Linked DNA regions of Homo sapiens: regions 1, 2, 4 and 5 are each linked to region 3. The links are contacts of gene promoters, found by promoter capture Hi-C in blood cells and fetal thymus (Javierre and others, 2016). All regions are on one chromosome and are shown on one strand. The core of a region is centred on a gene start or on the middle of the fragment in contact, and the rest is flanking DNA. Distances in the headings are between cores, read along the strand shown.

Region 1 (2,700 bases), core at 53-2,552, 1.8 Mb after region 3:
CTGCCCTAAGACCACCTTCATCCCTCCTCCATGTGCTAAGCATCCGCTTCATTTGGTGAACCCTATGTAAGCCAGTCCTTTCAGTGGAAACAATGATATTTAAAGTACCTGTGAGTTCTGATAATTACTTCCAAATGCTGCGTTTAGAGTCAAGGAAGTAGAAAACTACATCAAACAAAACTGGCTTATTCTTTGGGAGACTATGGAATCAAAGATGGAATCAAAGTCAAAAATAACACTAATGCCAGATTGTTGCAGGACTGTGAGACCAAGCCACTCTAGATGATGTCTTGGCCAGATGGACAAACCTTATAAAACAACAGAAGACAAGTCAGGAGCACACAGAATGTGATTTTTCAGCATTAAAATCAAAACTGTAATCAATCAGAGTAGAGACAATTTCACATGGGCTAAGTGGGATATTTATGAACTGTATAGCTCAGCCCTAGCTGCAGAAGCTGCCCAAATGGCTAGCTGCAGGCAAGATGAAGGAAGGGCTCCGGAGGCACACAGAGGGCACGCTCCAAGAGACTTTTGGAGGTACTGCTCCTGCTGGTATACCCCCCAACTCTGGGAGTGCAGTGTAGTTCTCAGAGAAAATGAGGCTCATTTGGAGCATAAACTGAAAACATTTTTTGCACAAGCCCAGATGTGGGTGGCTGTTATGAAGTCTGTTTAACTAGAGGGATTACAAATAGCAAATTGCCAATAAAGAGTTGGCTTTTATGAGTTTGAAGGGAAACTTAGTGATTAGCCTCAACTCCAAGAAGTAAAGCATCTTAGATTAGAATACAGAAGCCCCTAAACAGAATTCTTAAAAAAAAATTTAAATCTAATATTTGGTACATATAAAATATATATATCTCTCACATATGCAAATCACAAAACATAATATACTGAACACTTACTAGCCTAAGTGTTATGTCCAATTTAAGAACAGGAACATTGCCAATTGCATCCACCTTTGGGCTGCCTTCTCACCCTCCTTCCCTCCACGTCCTACCAGCAACCACTAACCCGAATTTTCTATTTATCATTTTCTTGCTTTTTATCACTTTATAAATTTCTTAAAATTATATTGTTTGGCTGTGTTTGAGCTTTATAAAAATGGCATCGTTATATCTTAGTCTCCTGGGACTTGCTTTTTTCCATCTTCTTTTTTTTTTGCTCAACATTATGTTTCCAAGCTTCATCCATAGCTTTGTGAGGAGCTGTAGTTCATTCATTTTCAGTGCTGTATAATAATCCGTTGTGTGAAAAGACCCCAAATGCCACTGATTTACATCATCTCCATCTATTGATGTTGTCAGGCTTGTGAATTTTTGCCAACCTAGTGGGTATAAAATGATATCTCACTGAAGTCTTAAATTACATTTCCTTGTTTCTAATGAGGCTTAACATCTTTACCTAAGCTTATTTGCCATTTGCTTTTCTTTTTCTGTGCAATGCTTGTTTATGCCTTTTCCACTCTTTTTTTTCTATAGCGCTGTCTTTTTTCTTACTGATTTTGTGGAGTTCTTTTTTTTTTTTTTAAGTGAAAGCAAGTTTATTAAGAAAGTAAAGGAATAAAAAAATGGCTACTCCATAGGCAAAGCAGCTGGGATTCTTTATGTACTAAGCAGCATGGGTTTTTAAAATCCATTTATCAATCTGTTGATTTTTAACATGTTAGGTGCAGAGCATTTAGAACTGGAAGGACCATTTGAAATACATAGTTCATCTCTCTCATGTTACTGAGGAGGAAAACTGAAGTGCACGGAGGTAAAGTAACTCGCCCAGTATCACAATTTGTGTTTGTACCATTGCTGAGGTGAGCACCTGGGCCTTCTAACCCCAAATTAAATTATTCTCCTATGTGACAACCTCCTTTAATGGTTTTTTCTCATTTATATTTAAAATTTTTAAAGTACCCAAGTAATAATACACGTTCATGGTAGAAAAAGAAAAAAAATTAGCAAAATGAGGAAAATAAAAATCAGTTTTAATCCCACCTTCAGATGCAACTATTCTCTGTTTTGTATTTCCTTTCTAGATAATAACTATAACGGATCATTATTATGAAATGCTTACTCTGTGCTAGTTATTATGGAGTGCTTCTTACAAAATGCTAGGCATTTTGTAAACACTCTTCATGTGTGGATGCTTTAATCTTCTGCACAACCCTATGATGTAGATTATCACCATCAGTGATAGGCAGTGTGGCAGGCAGAATGACAGCCTCCCTGAAATGTCCACATACTAATCCCAGGAACCTGTGAATGCGTTATGTTACATGGCAAAGGAGAATTAAGATAGCAGACAAAATTAAGGTTGGTAATTGGCTGATCCTGAAATAGCAAGAATATCCTAGATTACCCAGGTAGGCCCAACGCAATCAGAAAGGAAGAGGGAGACACAAGAGGCGGCATGAGAGTGATGCGATGTGAGAATGATTCAACCAGCCTTTGCTGGCTTTGAAGGTGGAGGAGGAGGCCAGAGCCAAGGAATGCGGGAAACCTTTAGAAACTGAAAAACCAAAAAATGGATTTCTCCTTTTGGTACTCCAGAAAGGAATGCACCCCTGCTGACACCTTGACTTTAGCCCAACATGGTAGACAGAACAATGGCCCCAAAATATCCACATTCCAATCCCTGGAATGTGTGACTGTGTTACCTTACATGTCAAAAGGAAGTTTACAGATGTGATTAAGACTTTTGAGA
Region 2 (2,700 bases), core at 44-2,543, 1.4 Mb after region 3:
GGAATAGGCATCACTGGAAGTGATGGCAGAGGCAAGGCAGGAGTCCCTGACCTCACCTCCATTCTCTCACTGAGGAGCCCCTGCAGAAGCTGGTCAACTATCCAAGCAGTCCCTGCTTCTTCCTGGCGAAGGCCTCAGCCTCCAGCCCAGCCCCCTCCTGGGAGAGGAGGGGGAGCTTATGCAATCCAAACCCAGTTCCCAGGCCCCAGAGGTGGACATAACTCCGGGGTGGAAGTCAGAAGCCTGCCAGGTTGTAGGCCTGGTTCTGCTCCCATCTGGCTGAATGATCCTGGTCCCAACACTCAGCGTCCCTCGGCCTTAGCCTCCCTGTCTGTAAAATGAAAGGTTTGATGGAGATCATGTGCAAGCCTCCTCCCCGTTCTAATTTTCTGATACCATCATTTTTAACGTGTCTTGTAGAGATAGAAGCCCTTCCTTTCAGCAGGACATGTTGCTCCCCATTCCGTGACGATCCCCCTCAATAATCCGTGTAATTTGAGAAAAGTATGATGCATCGGAACTGAAAAACAGGCTGTTGCTTTCCTGGTCACCAAATCTGATAATCAGTCAATTATATGGATTTTCCCCTGGGCCTTCTCCCTCAATCCCACAATCCCACGAATAAACCTGCCTACCCCTCCCAATTCCTCAACTCAAGGCTACCCGTTAATGAATGAATAAAAAAATAAATAAATAAATTTTAAAAACCACCTCCCCACCCCCTTCTACCCGGCCTGGTGTAAGGTGCCACAGCACTTCTTCCGTAATCTAGAATCCACCTCTGCCCCACCCTCTCCCCGGGGTGTCTTTTTAGCCAAGAATCCCTGGATCGACGCGCTCCATCTCCCCGCTCTACCGCGCTGATCATTTCTCCCTGCCCGGCACACCTCGGCTGAAAAGGAGGCGGCTCCTCTGCTCCAAGCCCAAGGGACCCAAACCTCTTTCCAGCCCGCAAGGGTGCGGGCACCTGGGAACAGCGGGAAGGGCCCGCGCCTCTGGAAAGAAGGGCCGCCGTCCCCACCTGGGCGGTGCAGGGGAGGCCCCCTCAGCGGGTCTCTTGTCACTTACGGGCGGCTCCTCCGGGCAGAACAGAGCAGGGCCGGGCCGAGCCGGGCTTGCGGGCCGCGGAGTTTGCTGACTCAAAGGCGCGCGGCGGCAGCGGCGGCGGCGAGCGCCCAGGAGCGCACACGAGCGCAGCCCCGCGCTCCCCGCGCTCCCCGCGCTCCCCGCGCACGTAGCGGCCCCGCGCCCGCGCTCAGCGCCAGCCGTCCGCCTGTGGGCGCCGCGCCTAGTGCTTCCGCCGCCTCCGCGCAGCCCAGCCCAGGTGCGCCCCCACCCTGCAGAGCTAGCCTCCTGCTTCCTGAAATTGAGTTAGGGAGGAAATGCCCCCATTAGTCCGGACGTTGAGGCTGGAGGTGCTCCAGCGGCACCCTTCGGAATTCGCCACCTGAGTCACCTTAAGCTTCCTAACCCTGACCCCACAGTTATGGGGAGGATTGCCGATGGGGAGGAGGACGGATAAATAACGTGATAAACAAGAATGGCAGAATGTTCATAGCATCTAGGTGGTGGGCTATGGTGTTTATATAAAATTATTTCAGTTTTTGTCTATGTTTGAAATGTCTCAATAAAACATTTGGGGGGAAAGCTAATGAGATCTGCCAAGGGACCTGACTGAGGAAAGCATTTCCCAAATGGCACCTGAGGCTGGGTCCCCACACCTGTTTGCATGGGAAACCACAATCATCACTTAAACTGCTAATAAGTGACTGAATGACACAGAATAATAAGCATAGCCTAATATTTCATTTTTCAAGCATGAATTTTCCCATTAGATACAGCTTGTCGCTGATCATCCTCCAGGGACCATTCCAGGCCCACCTGAAAACGCATCTGTTCACCACACCTACATTAACTCCCTAACAAAACGTATAAATATACAATGTTGTGTCTTAACATCTTGGATCTTGAAGTTGTATTGCTGAACCCTCAATCACTGGTATTTAATTTCCTAAAATTGCACCCAAGTCATGACACACAAGTGAATGCAACCATGATCACTTTTGAAAATCAAATTAAGCTGGTGTGGTGGCTCACGCTTGTAATCCCAGCACTCTGGGAGGCCGAGGCGGGTGGATTACAAGGTCAGGAGATGGAGACCATCCTGGCTGACATGGTGAAATGCCGTCTCTACTAAAAATACAAAAACTTAGCTGGGCGTGGTGGCGCGCGCCTGTAATCCCAGCTACTCGGGAGGCTGAGGCAGGAGAATAGCTTGAACCCGGGAGGCAGAGGTTGCAGTGAGCCGAGATCATGCCATTGCACTCCAGCCTGGGCGACAGAGCAAGATTCTGTCTCAAAAAAAAAAGAAAGAAAATCAAATTAAAGTGTATTTTTTATATTCTTGTCCCTATGCTCCGCAAAGAAAAACATTGAGTAGAAAACAAAATGCAGCATGTATCTAAGATCCTAAGAGATTCTGTAAAATTAAAATCTTTCTGAACTTATTGTCAAGAGCATGACTTTACAGCTGTAGACAAAGCAGCAACAAACCCTTGGAGAGTCTACTGAAAGTCATTTGAATATCTGTTAGAATTTTGACCCTATTAAGACTGGTAACTTGGGCCGGGCGCGGTGGCTCACGCCTGTAATCCCAGCACTTTGGGAGGCCGAGGCGGGCGGATCACGAGGTCAGGAGAT
Region 3 (2,700 bases), core at 201-2,700:
GGAGAATCGCTTGAACCTGGGAGGCGGAGGTTGCAATGAGCCGCGATCGCGCCACTGCACTCCAGCCTGGGAGACAGAGCAAGACTCCATCTCAAGGAAAAAAAAAAAAAAAGAACGTGATGACTAGAAAACAAAAACTACAATGTTCTTTGAAGTTGAACAATCAGTTTGAAAAATAAATAAAACCTTATTAGAAGTCGGCATCATCAAACAATCCTTCAAGTTTACCCTTGAAAGGAACAGAACGAAAGAGAAAGGCTGTCCTAAGCTCCTTCCCTAAACCCGAAAAGCACTTTGAGGACGATCGACCCACTTTTAGTTTCTATTCAAATGATCTCTTTAAATCCTTTAGGAATTGAGCACCAAACTTGTAACTATTAATTGTTCGTGCACAGCTCGTAGAAATTTTAACATTAGCAGAATGCAGACAGCTGAAAAATCAAGATTTATTTTCCCATCTAAAGCCTAACATAATAGCAATTCATAACCACTGTGTGAAACCGGAAATCTAACACTGTGTATGTCTAAAGTCAAATGCCAGTGTTTTCTAACAAAACTTTTACCAATAAGGTGTGTACACACACCCACACAGACGCACGCTAAGCTCAATTTTTTACTAATAAGGTGTACGCGCGCGCGCGCACGCTAAACTCTAGCCACAGATTCCCTAAGCCAGGAGTGCAAGTCGGTCGGGACTAGTCCACACCTTGCGAACGGGGCGGGGTGGGGAATGGATTCCAGGTGAAGCAGGCCATCAGCCAGAACCGCCAACTCCGCCCGCGGCCCTCAAAAGTAGGCGGCGCAGGGAGTCTCCGCCCCCTTCGCCACCGGCGACTCAAACCAAAACAGCTGGGTTTCTCTCCGCAAAGGCAAACCCCAGCGTCCTTCTCGGACGCGACCTACGTGTTTTCTCAGCTTACTGCGCCGGTAAAACCCACACTGCCCTCAAAACAGTCACCCCAGAGTTTAGCCTTGGACACCAGAAGCTTTTCCTTCGGGGGTCGCCAGCGTCACTCGTCCCCAGCCAAAGGGCCCCCGTCCCACACGCCTCCCCCAAATCGCGAAGGCCTGTCCCACGGGCCTCCCACCGCGTGGGGCGGCCACCCGTTGCCATTCCAAAACTCCACAGCTGATCCGAGTCGCCCACACCCCCGTCACAATCGCAGTCTGGAAAGGAAGGTTTGTCTTCGGGAAGGAAAGCCTCGTCACCACAGAGACCTCTCCCGAGACCGGCCAGGCCCCTACAGTACAGGGGCTGAAGGGTGTAGCACGAGCCCTAAAAGAGATGCAGCTGGAGGCCGCCCCGCACAAGGCGCTGGGGTGGACCGGGGAGGCGCCTTACCCAGTGGAAAGACTCCCGGATCAAGGGAGAAAGTTACGCAGGCTTCCGATCCTGATCCGCCATCAGCCGCCGAACCTCTTCCGCCACTACCGCCTACCCCCAAAGACCGGCTACACCTCCCCTCCCAGCCGACAGTAGGCCTTGCGTCACTTCCGCCCACGGGGCGGTCTCTTCCGCCTCCTGCCTGGTTCGCCGCTCCCCTCCGCGACGACACGCCCCCAGCCCACTCCGCCGCGGGACGCCTCATCCCGCGGGTAGGCTGGCTCTCTCCTTACTTCGTCCTTGCTATTTTCGTTCAACTTAATCGCAGCAAAACAATGCGTCTGGATTTACATTCTGATTTTATGTTATTATTTTGACATACGAAAGGGGGAAACACACAGGAGGTTTAAGTAACTCACCAGCGATGTGGAAAGGGCAGCTCAGAGGTCCATGGACAGTACCGTATCCCTGTCTGCGTCTCAGTCGGCCTAAACTAGCCCACTCATTTTATAGATAAGGAAATAGCCAGAGAAGCAAGGGAGTGACCACACGGCTAGGGCTGCAAACCCCTGAGCACCAAGACTGTCTCTGAACTCCTGGCCCAGTCGTGTGCTTTTTTGGCTATGAAGTTTTGTTCACTGAAAGCTCCTAGGAGCTTTTCAGTTCTAATGCCCTCTGATTCTATTTGCTCTCGCTCCAGCAGAGGCCTCTTTTCTAGCCGCATTTCTGTGAGTTACCTGCTTTTGTTATCCGTATCATTTTCCGTGTGTGAATTTTCTCCCGCGTTCTGTTATTTCTAAAATCACTTTTGCTTGTTGTATATGTTGCCTTCCTATATTGGACATTCAGTTTGAATCGTAACTCCACAGAAGCAAATGTGTCCCATTCGAATTCATCATAGTCTTCTGTTGCCGTAAAACCCTGACAAACCTTGCAATAGCACCAGAAAGGATATGTAAATTAGATCGCATTAAATGTTGAAGCACATTCTAAATACAGAACATTCAAAATTATCTTTCATATACTTTCATCTTTACTTCCAGTTATTTCAGAAGACATTAGCTTTGATAACATAGGTTCTCAATATTTACAGACTGATTTGTTTCCTGTGTATTGACATTTTTGAACTTGGTCTTGTGCTGGGTATTATACTTGATCATAGAATTTCAGAAGAACCTTAATAGGCCATTTAGTCCCAGTCTCCTTATTTTATGGATGAAGAAAACGGTGTGAATAATCAACATAAGTTATCACTTGCGTTACTGGTAGCAACCTTCTGGTAGTAGAAATAACTGTGTCCCTTAAGAAATGTAAACATAGCAGTGAATTTTATAAGCACAATTTGTCAGAGATGTCACTCTTTGTTTAAATCACAT
Region 4 (2,700 bases), core at 160-2,659, 1.9 Mb after region 3:
TGGATATTGCACAGACGTCTGCAAGGTCTATATAAACGCTACATAATGTTCAACTCAATTGCTTGCCTTGGCCTTTCCCAAACTTGTCACTGGAATATAAATTATCCCTTTTTTAAAAATAAAAAAATAAGAATTATGTAGTGCACATATATGATGGTTCATGTAGAAATCTAAATGGACTTCCAACGCATGGAATTTTCCTATTTCCCCCTTTCTTTAAATTAATCCTCAGTGAAGGAGGCTGTTTTCCCCTAGATTTCAAAAGGACGAGATTTACAGAGCCTTTCCTTGGAGAAACCCGCTCTAGGCACAGATGGTCAGTAAATTTAGCTTCTTCAGCGAAGTTCCACATGGCACCGCCAGATGGCATAAGGATCCCCTTCTCACCATCTCCACCCCCACCTTGTACCCTGCAAGTAATTTAGAAAAATTGAAAACCAAACACTTTTATATTTTATAACTAAATGAAGTGAGAACATACTGGCACTGTTAGAGAGCCACATATTACAAAAATAAGCTTTGTTGGTTGTTGCTTTAATGTGAAACTTCCTCCGGAGATTTTGCCCAGGAAAGTTTGCGAGTAAAATATTCATCCAGTGAAAGTGTTTGCAAAAATATTTCCTTAAGCGAAGTAAGCACCTTAAGCACGCTTTAAAAAGGTAAGAGTAAGAGGCCGCTGCGTTTCTGAGCGTGGTGTTTGCAGGGCCGGGCGAACTTTTTAGGGACTAAACTGAAATCGAGGGGGAAACTCAGTTTCCCAGCGAGTGGTCTCACTGGAGCAGAGCCTGGCCGGAGCCACAGGGCCGAGGTTGCATCTCTGCTTTCTCTGCTTTCCGATCCAGTTGCTGTTAGAGCAGCGTTGCTTTTTTAGGAATTCATTTTGGGGTCCCTATGACAGATAGGCAAGACTTTCTTTCCACTCACAAGTCACTGTAGTAGGGGGCAGAATCTTTGTTTTGCCAACCTCGGCGGGGGATTTGAGGGTGGAACCCTGGAAAGTGTAGACCTCCACTTCTCATCTGCCTCTCCTTTTATATCTGCTTTTCTGTTTGGGTTTATCAGGAAGAGAAGGGTTCGTGCTGTCCCCACATCAAGGTCAGAATAAGAACTTACGGTATTTGCAGAGGGAGACGGGAGGAAAGAAGAAAATACTGTACTCAAGTGAGAAGTTTCACAGCTTTAGATGTACATTTTTACATTTTACAGGTCGACAGCTCTCTAGCTGGGAAACTTCATGACTTCTTCTCCCATTTATACAAGCAGAATAATTGCACACTCACTTTTGATTACTCTACCCTATAATTATGCATTTTAAAATTGCAACCGGCCTTTAAAAATAAGTCTACCTAAAAAAATCTTTCAGAATACAGCCATTAGCCCTCATTTTACAAGAAGGTGGATTCATTGGATCTGTTGTTTTGTGCTCTGTCGGTTGACTTTTATTTAGCCAGAAACTAATGAGTTGGGTGCCGACGTTTACTTATATCTCCCTCTGACATCCTAACTGTGGGTGAATTTTCTAGCCCAGCACCAGATCCTTAGTGTCTGCAGGGCAAGAATCTGCACATTTTCACCAGCCCCTGTTTCTAGTGACCAACTTCGCAGGCTGTAGGAAAACTCATCCTACCCAGGCACATATAAGCAAAAAAAGTAGTAACACTTTTTAGTTTAGAATCAACACTTCTGATTCGTTAGTTCAAGTTGAAACCATACGTTTCTTATTTTATTTCACTATCTGGCTTTTTTTTCCTCTTGAAAAAGATCGGAGGGTATCAATAGTAAAACTGAAGTAAGAATTGCTAAAAGTAAAGCAAGAATTTTAGGGGGTACTTTTTTCCCTTAGGTGGTAAGAAGGAAGACCTGAAGGAACGAGTCTTTTAAAAGAGAACCTTAAGTTTCTAAGCACAATCTTGCTCTCTTAATATTTGTCTTCTGCCCTGCAGAAAACGGGGCAAAAAGTGTTTAAACAAATGGAGATGGGACCTGTGGGCTGTCCAGGCGTGGCTTAGGACTCGGGAGCTATCAGCTCCCCTCCCGAATCTCTGCTTCTAAGTCTCTTTTGCAGCCCCCCAGTAAAGGCGGGCCCCAGGTGGGAATTTGGCGATCCCGGCGCGTGGGGACGACTGCGCTGGGGCGCGGGGCGCTCCGGGTGCAAAGGCCCAGGCACAGGGCGGCGGGCGCAGGGGCAACGGTCCCAGGGCGAGGGATGCCGCTGTCCCCAGCTCTCCTGAAACCCACTCCCGGGCGAAAACGTGGGCAGAAGGCGGGAAAACGCCGCAGCCGGCGCTCAGAGCAAGCTTCCAGCAGACGCGGGAAGTTGAGGCTCGGCGCCCCCGCCCCCACCCCAGCGCCCAGTCTCCGCTCCCCTTCAGGGCCTCTTCCGGGCTGAGTCCTGGGAGTGGGTTTCCCCGGCCGCAGTGATTTTGCAAGAGTGCGGCCGGCCGGCTGTAAATCAGCCTTTCTCCACTCCCGGGGGGCAGCCCTCCCGAGCCGGGGCGGGGGCGCGGAGGACGCGGGGGCCGGGCCCATGGCCACCCTAGGCCCTCGGCCGCAGCTGGATCGGCCGCCTCCGGCGAGGCGGCGGGGGTTAAACGCCGTGAATCCATCAATCAAGCGCACCGCCGCCCTCGCGAAACCCGGAGCACCGCCCGCGGGGCCTGCTTTGTGTCTCGCCCGCCCGCCTGCCCGGGGCCTGGGAAG
Region 5 (2,700 bases), core at 16-2,515, 1.8 Mb after region 3:
TGTAATCCCAGCTATTCGGGAGGCTGAGGCAGAAGGATGACGTTAGCCCGGGAGGTTGAGGCTGCAGTGAGTCATGATCATGCAGCTGCACTCCAGCCTGAGTGACAGAGCAAGACCCTGTCTCTAAAACATAAAAATAAAAAAAAAAAAAACACTTTTCATTACCAGCTTAGTTTGCATAATCCAAGACAATATACAACTTTATTTCACATATTAAAGTTAGGCAGGCTCACCTGGGATTCAGATGCTGCAGAATTTTTTGGGGGTAAGCTCAGAAAGAGATGGGAGAAAGTATGCTAATAAGAAAGTCACCTATCTCTTATATTTAAGAAGGAAACCTTAAGTCAATATTTCCATAAAATTTTATTTTTTGTTTATAATTTACATTATAAACCCAGTTTCTAATTTTAGCACGGAAATTTAGGTACCAGTAGCAACAGATAGGTGCCTTGCCATAATAAGTCCTCATATTTTGCATTTACAGAGCATTTTCACGTTCATTACCTTATTTTGGTAGTCTGTTCCCAATTTTTATTCTTGCTGCTAAGGGTTTTCTGCGATGTCACAGAGCTACATAATAGGAGAATCCAAATTCAAGGCCAGGTCTCCTGACTCCCAGTCTAAGCCCTTCCCAAACCTGGGCCACACCACCTGTTTCAGTGGAGGTGTCTATTGTGTAGGCCCAGAGGCAAACACAGCTATCCTGGATGTGGATGAGGGCACAGCAAGCCAGCCAGTCTCACTCACTGTGGTGGGAGCACAAACTGATATGCATCCTTTGGAAAAAGCAATTTGGCAAAATGTATTGAGAACCTTAATACTGTTTCTACACTTTGACCCAGTAATTCTACTTAAAGGAATCTATCCTAAGAAATTAATGTGATATTAGCCGAAGGTTTACATAGAAATATGTTTACTGGAATGCTACTTATAATTCCAACAATAAAAGGTTAGTTAAGAACATTGTGGTTCTGGGTGCAGTGGCTCATGCCTGTAATCCCAGCACTTTGGGAGGCTGAGGTGGGTGGATTGCTTGAGCCCAGGAGTTTGAGACCAACCTGGGCAACATGGCAAAACCCTGTCTCTACCAAATAATACAAAAATTAGCTGGCATGTTGGTGCACACCTGTGGTCTCAGCTACTCAGCAGGCTGAGGTGAGAGGATCACCTCAAGGGTGTAGTGAGCCATGATCATGCCACAGCACTCTAGCCTGGGTGACAGAATGAGACCCTGTCTTAAAAAAAAAAAAATTATGGAAATAATGTGAAAATATTTATTATATAAGATCAAATGAAAAAAGTCATCATCCAGATAGAATAACTAGCAGAGAAACAAGATGTATACCAAAATGTTAAGGCCTAACTGTGACTAATGAGATTACAAATACAATTTTTTACATTTAATACCCATTTCCCATGTTTTCTATAAATAAGATGTAATTTTATAATCAGAAAAAAAGATTATATTTAAAAATTTTTAAATTATAAAAGCAGCCAGTGAGACTAAACACTAAAAATAAAGAGTGATTTGGGGATTAAAAATGGTCATTTTATCTAGATTGGTTCATAAACTGTATGGTTCATGTTCAGGAAAAACTAACAAACAAAAATATGGTGCTAATTTGTTACATTTCCAAGGAGAAGATTAAGGATGTATGATTTAAAGATGAAAACCACAATTGCAATAGAGCATGTGGCAAATATTTCAAGCTAGCAAAGTTTGACTAGGTAGTGGAATCACTTTCATGACTAAAGAAAGCTATACTGAATGTGTAGGAGTGAGGCTCTAGGGAGCCTCACTAGGAGAAGCTCTTGCAAGATCCCTGCACCATGTGGTAAGCTGGTTTCTTCCTCCGTGGTCTTTGGCCCTGGCTTGTTTTGTGTGATAAAAAGGAAGAGTCATCGGAGAGCTTCATATACAGCGAACACAACCTCAGAGATACTTTGGAGCTTTCTGGGTGGGGGAGAAAGACGTGGCAAAAGCAGCTGAAGGATTCAGGGTTAACACTTTGCCTTTTGAAGAGACTTCAGTTCTTGGAGGGCTTCCAGTCTGAATTTGGGGAATTCATCAACAGGAAAACAAATAGCTGGCAGGCTCTGTATTTACTCTGCCCTTCTCAAGGTTGCAACATAAATCTCCCAACTTGGAAAGCATTAAGGCCGAGGAGACATTTTGTGAGTTCAGGGACTCTCCTCCAGTCTGCATGAACCACGTCTACCCTCATTTCGGGAAAACACAGGCACCAGCCCTCAAGGTGCTGCGGGAGACAGTACTGACACTGTTTGACTCGCTTGGGGCAGACTGGGGAAATGAGAGCTGGAAAACTTGAGTTCTCAAGTGAGAGCTGTTGGTCTGCTTTGGAAAAAACCCACTTACGCCAGGAGAATGAAAGCCCTGAGAAGTTCTCACTGGGTGAGTTTATGGCAGGCTTGCCATGAAAAATACCCAATGGTTCTTTGATGGTGCCCGAATTGTAATATAGCTAGATCAATTCTGGAAGCAACCTTCTTCAACACCACTGGAATATGTATGCTCCCATGCCCAACGTTTCCAATTAGCAGAGAAGCTAATGCTGGAAACCATTACATATAATCCAGAAAAACTGTCTATGTAACATTATAAAAATTGAATATGTGTCAGAAGTGGATTTAGATTCTTTGGGTTAATATTATTTTTGCAATTAAGTAAGGAACTGACAT

Evidence for each region. The method cuts DNA at HindIII sites, captures the fragments that hold promoters and counts their contacts. A CHiCAGO score of 5 or more calls a contact.
Region 1: a fragment that was not itself captured here is called in contact with the fragment with the promoter of TAX1BP1 in region 3 in 1 of 17 cell types (fetal thymus); the score reaches 7.0 in fetal thymus.
Region 2: a contact is called between the fragment with the promoter of SNX10 here and the fragment with the promoter of TAX1BP1 in region 3, in 1 of 17 cell types (neutrophils). The highest score is 6.6, in neutrophils.
Region 4: a contact is called between a fragment that was not itself captured here and the fragment with the promoter of TAX1BP1 in region 3, in 1 of 17 cell types (fetal thymus). The highest score is 6.4, in fetal thymus.
Region 5: a fragment that was not itself captured here is called in contact with the fragment with the promoter of TAX1BP1 in region 3 in 1 of 17 cell types (fetal thymus); the score reaches 5.0 in fetal thymus.

Annotation. Positions count from the first base shown.
Region 1 is chr7:25,954,472-25,957,171 of GRCh38, reverse strand. All of the region lies in intron 6 of LOC105375199 (a long non-coding RNA gene), which reads left to right. Among named protein-coding and RNA genes, the nearest start is that of MIR148A, 5.8 kb to the right of the region's middle. The HindIII fragment of the contact is 225 bases long and covers 1,190-1,414 here.
Region 2 is chr7:26,290,455-26,293,154 of GRCh38, reverse strand. SNX10 (sorting nexin 10) reads right to left here and starts at 1,293. Exons shown (of 7, transcript NM_013322.3): 1 at 1,069-1,293. RefSeq lists silencers at 800-879, 1,030-1,269. The HindIII fragment of the contact is 4,940 bases long and covers 1-1,464 here.
Region 3 is chr7:27,738,912-27,741,611 of GRCh38, reverse strand. It overlaps TAX1BP1 (Tax1 binding protein 1), which reads right to left and starts at 1,450. Exons shown (of 17, transcript NM_006024.7): 1 at 1,343-1,450. TAX1BP1-AS1 (TAX1BP1 antisense RNA 1) reads left to right here and starts at 937. Exons shown (of 2, transcript NR_187572.1): 1 at 937-1,596. RefSeq lists enhancers at 1-652, 1,167-1,436, 653-1,515 and a silencer at 767-999. The HindIII fragment of the contact is 7,568 bases long and covers 989-2,700 here.
Region 4 is chr7:25,852,397-25,855,096 of GRCh38, reverse strand. No RefSeq gene overlaps it. Among named protein-coding and RNA genes, the nearest start is that of LINC03007, 64 kb to the right of the region's middle. The HindIII fragment of the contact is 1,780 bases long and covers 520-2,299 here.
Region 5 is chr7:25,896,835-25,899,534 of GRCh38, reverse strand. No RefSeq gene overlaps it. Among named protein-coding and RNA genes, the nearest start is that of MIR148A, 52 kb to the left of the region's middle. The HindIII fragment of the contact is 3,378 bases long and covers 1-2,700 here.